Regions from separate parts of the Homo sapiens genome. Here regions 2 and 3 are each linked to region 1. The links are contacts of gene promoters, found by promoter capture Hi-C in blood cells and fetal thymus (Javierre and others, 2016). All regions are on one chromosome and are shown on one strand. Each heading gives the region's core, a stretch centred on a gene start or on the middle of the fragment in contact. The rest is flanking DNA. Distances are from core to core; before and after follow the strand shown.

Region 1 (2,937 bases), core at 219-2,718:
TACTATAAATACTAAAATTAGCCAGGGGTGGTTGTGGGCACCTGTAATCTCAACTACTTGGGAGGCTGAGGCGGGAGAATCTCTTGAACCCGGGAGGTAGAGGTTGCAATAAGCCACTGCATCCCACCCTGGGCGACAGAGTGAGACTTCGTCTCAAAAAAAATAAAAAAAATAAATAAACTAAAACTAAAAGAAAACACACAAAATGAGGGTGAGATAATCAGATAGTAGCAATAGCACACCACCCATCGTTGCCATCCCAGGCCAAACTCCTCATACCCTACAGCTCTCTCCTCCTGCAAACACTGAAAAGAACCCTTTCAAATGGCAGGACCCTTCTCTTCTGGGGGGAGTCTCAAGAATGCCCACTCCCTCTTCCCTGCCCTGCAGTCCCAGCCTTCTCATCTCTTACCCCAGAGATATGAAATAACATACTTAAGACTGCCCCACTTAAATCTGACCTCCTGGCCTTGACCTACTCCAGACCGCTCCCTTCACCCCAAAGATATTCTAAGCCCAGCCCCTTCCCCACAACTTCAGACCTTCCTCTCTAGTTGCCTAAGTGAGGAAGCCTCCACTCTGAGACATCTCAAAGTCACCATTCCAAAATCCAAACGTTCATGGAAAAACAACAAAAACACCTTGCTCTTTCATGCCTTACTTTCAGTCATAGCTGCATATGATGGAGCAGAAAATCCTGTTGGTTTCAAATTTAAAACCTACCCAGAATATGATCACTTCTACCCACTCACCTGCCATTACTCTTGGTACATCCACCACCAAAGCATTCCTGGAATCCACTGCAGTAGCCTCCTTACCGGTCTCCTCGTATCCATCCTCGCAGTCCCCACCCCAAACTAATGTTCTCCCCTGAGCAAATTTCGAGACACTTAAAATCCCAGCTAAGATCACGTCCTTCTATTCAAAACCCTCAGTTAATCTCAACGCCCTCAGAATGAAGCGACAACTTCTCAGCCTGCCATTCCAGTCACAGTTCCTCAAACTCTGCTCTGTGTTGATGAGAACCCTGTCTCCCAAATGTTTGGGGGTCAGCAGCACCCCCGAGCCTTTACCTGCGCCGTCCCCTCCGCCCGTAACTCTCCCACACCCACCCACACCGAGATAGGACCCCGCCCCAAGAGTGCGTCGCTGTCCTGGGACACAGGGGCTGCAGGCACTTTACGATTCGGAGTCGGAGAAAGGGTGACTGAGGGCCCGGAGGACGCAGCACCCACCCGCGCGGAGTCCGTTAGCTCCGCCATAGGACCGTGGGCGCGGACAGCTGCCGGGAGCGGCAGGCGTCTCGATCGGGGACGCAGGCACTTCCGTCCCTGCAGAGCATCAGACGCGTCTCGGGACACTGGGGACAACATCTCCTCCGCGCTTTCCCAACACCTCCACCTGCGGCCCACACAAGCGTTACAGAACCCCGGCCAGGGACAGCCTGACAGAAACAAAATGTCCGCTACAAGGAGGAGCCGGAAGTCCCGCCCACGCACCCCCCGCAGGCACTGAAACACCCCTCTCCTGGGCCCTCATTGGGTATGCAACGTATAGGTTTGTGGGTAGAGTGTGGTTCCCACTGAGCTATCCTTCAAGGCAGGGGATTCTCGGCCTGGGCTCTTGGGAAAACTCGAAGTAGGAGGGCCAAGTTGTTTGGGAAAAGTAACCCGAGTTTCAAAGGGCTGACAGGACTTCCGTCCTCTTTTTTTTTTTTTTTTTTTTTTTTGAGACAGAGTCTCGCTCTGTCTCCCAGGCTGCAGTGCAGTGGCGCGATCTCGGCTGACTGCAACCTCCGCCTCCCGGGTTCAAGCGATTCTCCTGCCTCAGCCTCCCAAGTAATTGGGACTACAGGGGCCCGCCACCACGCCAGGCTAATTTTAGTACTTTTAGCAGAGTACGGGATTTCACCATGTTGGCCAGGCTGGTCTCGAACTCCTGACTTTGTGATTTGCCTGCTTCGGCCTCCCAAAGTGCTGGGATTACAGGAGTGAGCCATGGTGCCCGGCTGACTTCTGTCCTCTTAAAAGGCCTGGACCTAGATTCCCTGGAGTGTAGTATGCACCGATCGCAGAAATGTTGAGACATTTCAGATGTTCCCCAAAGCTGCAAAACTAAATAGATACACCACACCACAATGTCTCTTTGCGTACACTCACAGCTAGAAGCTAATAACTATTACCTTGTTGCTTTTTAAATATGTGTGCACTCAAGCTTTACAGTAACTTTTGTGAGCTTCAGTTTGGTCAGAGACGGAAGAGAAAATATTCCAAACAAGGCCTTGGAGTGGAAGAAGGAAGAGGGATGATGTGGAGTCTCCCTGAAACCAGTGGACAGATTTCTTCAGAAAACTCTTCCTGCCTGGGTAATCAGTGATGTCTCCATCACAGCAAAACACAGTGCAATTACCATTTAACCTGTCATTGTCATTGTAAGTATGGTGTCTGTGTTAGGAGGTGAGATTATCCCCGGGGGAAAAATCCTGACAGCTATTAATAATGATTCCGTAGTTATTTGAAGATAATGAAAGAAATTGCTCTAAGGAAATATCTGTGATAGATGGACAAAGTTAAGATCTCAGTAAAGTTTGAGCCTGAATACTAAAGTATAAGTGAAAGAATGAAGTTAAGCATATGGTTGTGTTGTGATCTTGACCACACTTTGTCAACAAAATGTGACTCTTTTTTCCTGAAAATGCTGAGCAATTGTAAAGAAGATATCAGAATGGTAAAAATCAACAGTGAAGTTGTGCTGTCTTGATAATTCACTGTTAAAATACACATCCAAGGAACACATACGAGCTCTCAGTAGGTGTTTTTCAAATGTGTTAGTAGCATGAAAGACATCACTAATAAAATTTCCAAGATTCCTATACATACAGGACATGTCCTGCATATAATGATTTTTGTCCTGCATCACCTTTTGACTTTGTCACAA
Region 2 (2,937 bases), core at 288-2,787, about 14 Mb before region 1:
CTCTCTCTTTTCTCATTCCCTTAGTTCCCCACTTCCTATGTAGCCCTTTAAAAATGCAAATATAGACTTTTACCTCCCCTTCACCAGACACTTCCTACAGGGAAAGTTCATCTAACTGTGTGCTCCAAGCCAGAACTCTCCTCCAGAATTAACAGTCAATTTACAAACTAAAGCATGCTGGCCTCTGAACTCTCACTCACCAGGAGGTTGCCTGAAGAGACAACAGTTGAAAGCGTGCCTGCTACTCTCTCCCTTCTGGTTACAACTTATTTCTGCCCATGAAAAAGCCAGCTCAACTGCCTAATAGATAAGGCACCAAGCCAGCACACAGACCCCTTCCCTCTTCCTCCCCTACCTTTTAAAAGTGCCTGCTTTCTGCTCTAAAAGCCAAGCCGTGCACTTAAAGACAACACCTGTGCTACTTCCCCTACGCTAGCTCTAGAATAAATCACTTTCTTTATACCAGATCTCCCTCTTGTTAACTGGACGTTGCAAACGGGAAGCCACTGATCTACTTTTCAGTTACAGGGGCTGATGCTTTCCTGGCTTCTCATTGCCCCTCCCAACCCATTCTACCTGGCTCATTCTTTAAACCAGTGGTCCCCAACCGTTTTAGCACCATGGACCGGTTTTGTGGAAGACAATTTTTCCACGGACTGGGGAATGGTTTCGGGATGAAACTGTTCCACCTCAGCCATTAGATTCTCATAAGGAGCGCCTGACCTAGATCCTTCGCACGCACAGTTCACAATAGGATCCGCGCTCCTATGAGAATGTAATGCTGGGCTGATCTCACAGGAGGTGGAGCTCAGGCCATAATGCTCCCTCACCTGCCGCTCACTTCCTGCTGTGCCGCCCGGTTCCTAACAGTCAGTGGACCGGTACAGGTCTGTGGCCCTGGAGTTGGATATCCTTGCTTTAAACCCTGAGCCTCCTTTCAGCCATCTGACGGCTCAACAGTCACTCTATCTAGCTCCTTGAATATTGTATCTCCTCGCTTGTTCCCTGTCCAAGAACACTCCTGTCAATCATGGGAGACATTTAGACTTCATAAATTCTTTCTATTCAATATTTTCGCTCGAGGACTCTGGGAAGGACAACTGTCAGGGTAACAGTCTGCATTCCCCACCAGGAACCTGGGGCTATGAAATTCGTTCCCCGTGGGTGTTGCGGGAAGTGTAATCGAGGAGCACCATGTAGTCGCAACACTTGAGCCTAAAGGGTGAGGTGATGGACATTTTCCTTTTGCATCTGAGGCTCTGCAGTCCAGACACCTTGCGGGATTCCTGATACTTCAGCTCAGGTAGGCGTTTCCGGAGAATTCTGGGAAGAGTAGTCCATTTTACGGGAAGTGTAGTCCACTGGCTCGTGGAACACTGGGTATTTTGGCTCTGGCAGGTGAACCGTTGAATTCTGGGAACGATAGTCCAGACACTCTGCGGAGTCCCGGGCCCTTTGGCTCAGGGGGGCGGGTCCGGGGAATTCTGGGGAGTGGAGTCCAGACACTCTGGCGCAGAGAGGACACTTCCGGTCTCCTAGTCTGAGGTTCCTGCTTTAATGACCGGGGTAGTTTGAGCCATTTCTGCGTCTTGCAGGACATTTTGAACGAACCCCCTTTGCTTGAGGCTCGCAACCACCCGATGATCGATGATCGTCTCAGGGGAAAAGAAGCCTTGGCGAAGAGCAGAGGTTTAGAGGTGCGAGGGCGGGGAGGGTGTTTATTGTTCCCGTCAGCGGAGCCTTCTGGCGTCGGGGGGCTTTGCTCGCCTCCCGGGGGGTGGGATTGGGGTGGCCTTGTGTGCCCTGCTCTGAGGGTTTCCAGGACTTTGACCTCGCTCAGTCCGCCTCCCTACGTATGCAGTGTGTACACTCTTTCTCGCAGTGTGATGTGGAATGTTAATGTCTCTGTACTTCCCATTGCTGTTCTTTAAAATGGTGCTTATAGGGTCATCCTAATAGAATTGTTTTGCGAATTGAAAGAGATAATACAAATGAAAGCCTTAAAGTTGTCCCTGTCACTTGGTGAGTGGTCTCTTGTTGCCTGATATTTTAAAACGTTTGATATCATTTCAAAGCTATAGAAAAATTGCAAAAACAGTATAAGAAATTCTCATATACCCTTTACCCAAATTTGCCAAGTGTTTACATTTTTCCTGTTTGCTTTGTTGATGACCATCAACCAAATACCACCAGGAACATACCTGTAACCAGAGACAGCTGATTGGTAGCTTTCTGCAGCAAGGAAGCCCACATACCACGGTAATTGTGGGGTGTCTTGGTAAGAGGCATTTAGGAAGGGCTGGTTATAGGGTTTCACATAACATGGTAGATAATATTGGATATTATGTTAAATAATACTGTTACCGATTACATGTCAGATAGATGTGTTAAAAGAATACTAGTATTTGTAGTGTACTTACTAGATAGTGTTGGATAGCATATTACCTAGCATCATGTTATCTAATCTGCAGTTCCATATACGAATTTGTTAAATTTTTCATTTAAAGTCCTTATGACTGTCCTCTGCCCCACCCTTCACCTATTCAAAGTCCAGTTTATGCGTTGTCTTTAGCTGTCACATTTCCATAGTTGTTCATTTGGAGTTTGATATTGAAGGGGGCCTGCCTCTCCACACCTGTGGGTGTTTCTCACAAGGTGGAAATGAGAAACTGAGAAAAGAAATAAGACACAGACACAAAGTATAGAGGAAGAAAAGTGGGCCCAGGGGACCGGCGCTCAGCAAATGAGGACCTGTACCGGCACTGGTCTCTGAGTTCCCTCAGTATTTATTGATCACTATCTCTACTATCTTGGTGAGGGGGATGTGGAAGGACTATAGGGTAATGGTGGGGAGAGGGTCAGCCGGAAAACATGTGAGCAAAGGACTCTGTCATAAATAAGTTTAAGGAAAGGAGTTGTGCCTGGATGTGCACATAG
Region 3 (2,937 bases), core at 115-2,614, about 13 Mb before region 1:
CCCAGGACTTGGGCACTCGCCAGCGTGGGGGTTCTCGAGCCTACGATACAGCAGCTCAATGGGAACTGGGCCCTTTGTCCTTCTCTTGCCCAATCATGACGGCCTGGGTGTTGTGCAGTCAGCTCTTCCCGGGACCAAATCTGCAGCACAGGCTCTGTCCCTCTACTAACCTGCACATTCTCACGCCTGCAAATAGCGTACCCAAGTAAAGGTCTCAGCAACACCTGCTTCATAACGATGCTGGCAACATACTGCTTCCTCCCCAGCTACCAATTTGATGGCAGCTGTTGCAGCTCTGTCCTTCCTGGACTTAAATTCTGTATCTCCAACCCGGAGTCTCTGCCCATCTTGAATGCTCTAGAGCTCTGCACTATCCTACATAGGTCCCTACTATCAGTTCAAGTTTCTGTTTTCCATTCAGACACCCCCAGGACGTGCAGGGGGCCCTCTGCCCAGAACCTGTTTCTAGGCCCTGATACCCTCCTTCAGCCTGGGAGTTTGCTGCCCATGGGTAATTCCCACCAAGGGTTCACTAGCAACACTGCCTCTTCTGGCACAAGAATCTGCAACTCCAATCTGGTCTCTCCACCAACCACAGCGCCCCCAGACCTTGGAGAAGCGCGTTGTCTGCTCTAGGGGCCCAGAGCCACCTGCTCGGAATCTTACCTACAACCTTTTGCTTCCTACCCAAATACCTGATCAAGAGTAAAGGGACAGTGGCACAGCCCCTCCTCTCCAGAAACCACAATCTGCAATGGAGCACTCCATCAACCCGGACATCCTCAGGCCTCCACTAAATAAGCCCGGCATTGGAGGAGGGGAGTTCTCAAGATGTCCCCTTACATCAATGCATGTGCCCTGTGTTCCAGCAACCTGGGCATCCTCAGGCCCCAGACAAGAGCACCACCTGACCAAGCACCCGCGCATGCACGCAGAGGACAGTCGCGGAATATACAGCTGTATCAGTAACTCCATCAACCCCGGTGACCCGAGGCTAAAGCGCCACCCGCACAGATACCAGGTCTCCCCGCTACACTCACCACCGCTTCCAGCTTCCCGCGTAGACCCTGCGCATGCGCGCATCGGACACCAAGCGCTGCCCCACGCCCCTACCAACCTGGGCGTCCGCTGGCCCGCAGCCCAGGCTGGGCCTGTCACCGCCTCAGTGCCTAGCACGGCTCTGCGGCAGGACGAACTCGGGTTAGGCAACCCCCTGCCCCGATTCTGCAACACGGCCGACTCGGGTTAAGCTAGTTCGGTCCCCTCTCCTAGTCAGCATCCGCAAGGCCGCTGGGGGTTAAGTCTGAAGGGCCGAGCTGCTCGGCGACAGCAAGCGTCCGCGCGCGGGACAATGGCTGCTCTTGTGGCCGAACCCGGAAGTGCACTTGGGCTCGGAGAGCCAGAACTACAATTCCCAGAAGCCTCCGCGGCGCGGACGGTCAGTAGGCGGGGTTCCGGCTTCTCCAAGGAAGTGGGGCGGGGGACCGGGCCAGAAGCTAAGAGGGCGTCCTCGTCCGGGGCCCGGGGGGGCGCCACACCTGTGCATGTGCAGGTCTAGGGGGAGCACTAAGACCAGCCGCGGCGCCGGGAGGCCGAGGCCAGTGCAGCGACGCATGGGGAGTCGCTCTGGCGTGACGTCAGAATCCAATAGAAATGGCGGGGACCCTTTCTGGGTGCCCCCTGCCTGTCAGACGCTGCGCGCGACCCCTTGTCTCCTCTAGTCCTAGGGGAAACCTGTGAGACAGTTGCGACATCCCCATTTTACAGTGGAGGGAGCGTCTACCGAACCCTTCAGGAATCTATGTTTTTACATTTAATAATACTAAAATATAATCATTTTATTTTTAAATTTTGAGTTCTTTCTCTGCCTATAAGGCCTGAAGGATCTGTTCCCCCCACCTCTCCCCTTTTCTCTGTTTTTGTTTTGTTTTGTTTTGTTGTTTTGAGACGGAATTTCGCTCTTGTCGCCCAGGCTGGAGGGCAATAGCGCGATCTCGGCTCACTGCAACCTCCACCTCCCGGATTCAAGCGATTCTCCTGCCTCAGCCTCCTGAATAGCTGGGATTACAGGCGCCAGCCACCACGCCCGGCTAATTTTTGTATTTTTAGTAGAGACGGGGTTTCACCACGTTGGCCAGGTTAGTCTCCAACTCCTGACCTCAGGTGATCCGCCCTCGGCCTCCCAAAGTGCTGGGATTACAGGCGTAGTCCCCTTTTCTCTTTGCCCTCATTTCTTGCCCATTTGCTTGGCACATTTTCCCCATTCTCCAACAGATCCAGCAGACTCCAGCCCCTGGTCGTTTGCAGGTGCTCTTTGCACTCCCTAGCAGCCTCTCCTGAGGGATTCATTTGGCTCTCACCGTCTGGTAATTAGGGGAATATCATCTTCTCATGAGGCATTGCCCCACCACCCGTTGTGAACTTGCAAGCAAACGCTTCCCTCCCCACATGCTCTGTGCCTCCCCCTTCATCTTTTATTTTTTTCTCTAAAGAACTTTTCACTATCTAGCACACTATATATTTTAATTATTTATTTGGTCTACTGTCCGACCTACCACTACGATGTCAATTCCATAAGGAAAAGCATTTTATCGATGTTGATCACTGCTGCATCCCCAACACCTAAAAAAAAAAAAAAGAGAGAGACCTGGCACATAATAGATGCTCAATAAATATTCGTTGGCTAAATAAAGGTTCCTGTCTCTGTATTAAACACTTTAATATTTCATTACCAAGCCCAATCAGCCTATGAGGTAGTTGTGTTAATTTTCATCCTACCAGGGAGGTAGCTGAAAATTGGAGCCCTGCTGTATGAAAATACATAATTTTTTAGTTTTTAAAATGCTTGTCAAAGCACTCCTGTAGTTTTCTTCACGTAAATTCTGACCTTTAAAAACAATGAATTATTACTATTTGAAATGTAATCTCTATCCCCAA

What was found. Contacts are between HindIII fragments. The CHiCAGO score rates a contact against its expected background, and 5 or more counts as called.
Region 2: the fragment with the promoter of ZNF223 here is called in contact with the fragment with the promoter of ZNF671 in region 1 in 1 of 17 cell types (naive CD8 T cells); the score reaches 5.9 in naive CD8 T cells.
Region 3: the fragment with the promoter of ZNF180 here is called in contact with the fragment with the promoter of ZNF671 in region 1 in 1 of 17 cell types (total CD4 T cells); the score reaches 13.2 in total CD4 T cells.

Annotation. Positions count from the first base shown.
Region 1 is chr19:57,726,156-57,729,092 of GRCh38, forward strand. It overlaps ZNF671 (zinc finger protein 671), which reads right to left and starts at 1,469. Exons shown (of 4, transcript NM_024833.3): 1 at 1,236-1,469. The coding sequence starts at 1,373. RefSeq lists enhancers at 1,168-1,668, 1,186-1,625, 1,766-1,815 and a silencer at 1,622-1,847. The HindIII fragment of the contact is 7,103 bases long and covers 1-2,212 here.
Region 2 is chr19:44,050,499-44,053,435 of GRCh38, forward strand. It overlaps ZNF223 (zinc finger protein 223), which reads left to right and starts at 1,538. Exons shown (of 5, transcript NM_013361.6): 1 at 1,538-1,697. RefSeq lists enhancers at 1,204-1,705, 1,525-1,764 and a silencer at 1,425-1,484. The HindIII fragment of the contact is 18,414 bases long and covers 1-2,937 here.
Region 3 is chr19:44,499,158-44,502,094 of GRCh38, forward strand. ZNF180 (zinc finger protein 180) reads right to left here and starts at 1,365. Exons shown (of 5, transcript NM_001278509.3): 1 at 1,118-1,365. RefSeq lists enhancers at 635-1,133, 1,121-1,170, 1,134-1,634, 1,181-1,240, 1,251-1,460 and 2 more. The HindIII fragment of the contact is 10,008 bases long and covers 1-2,937 here.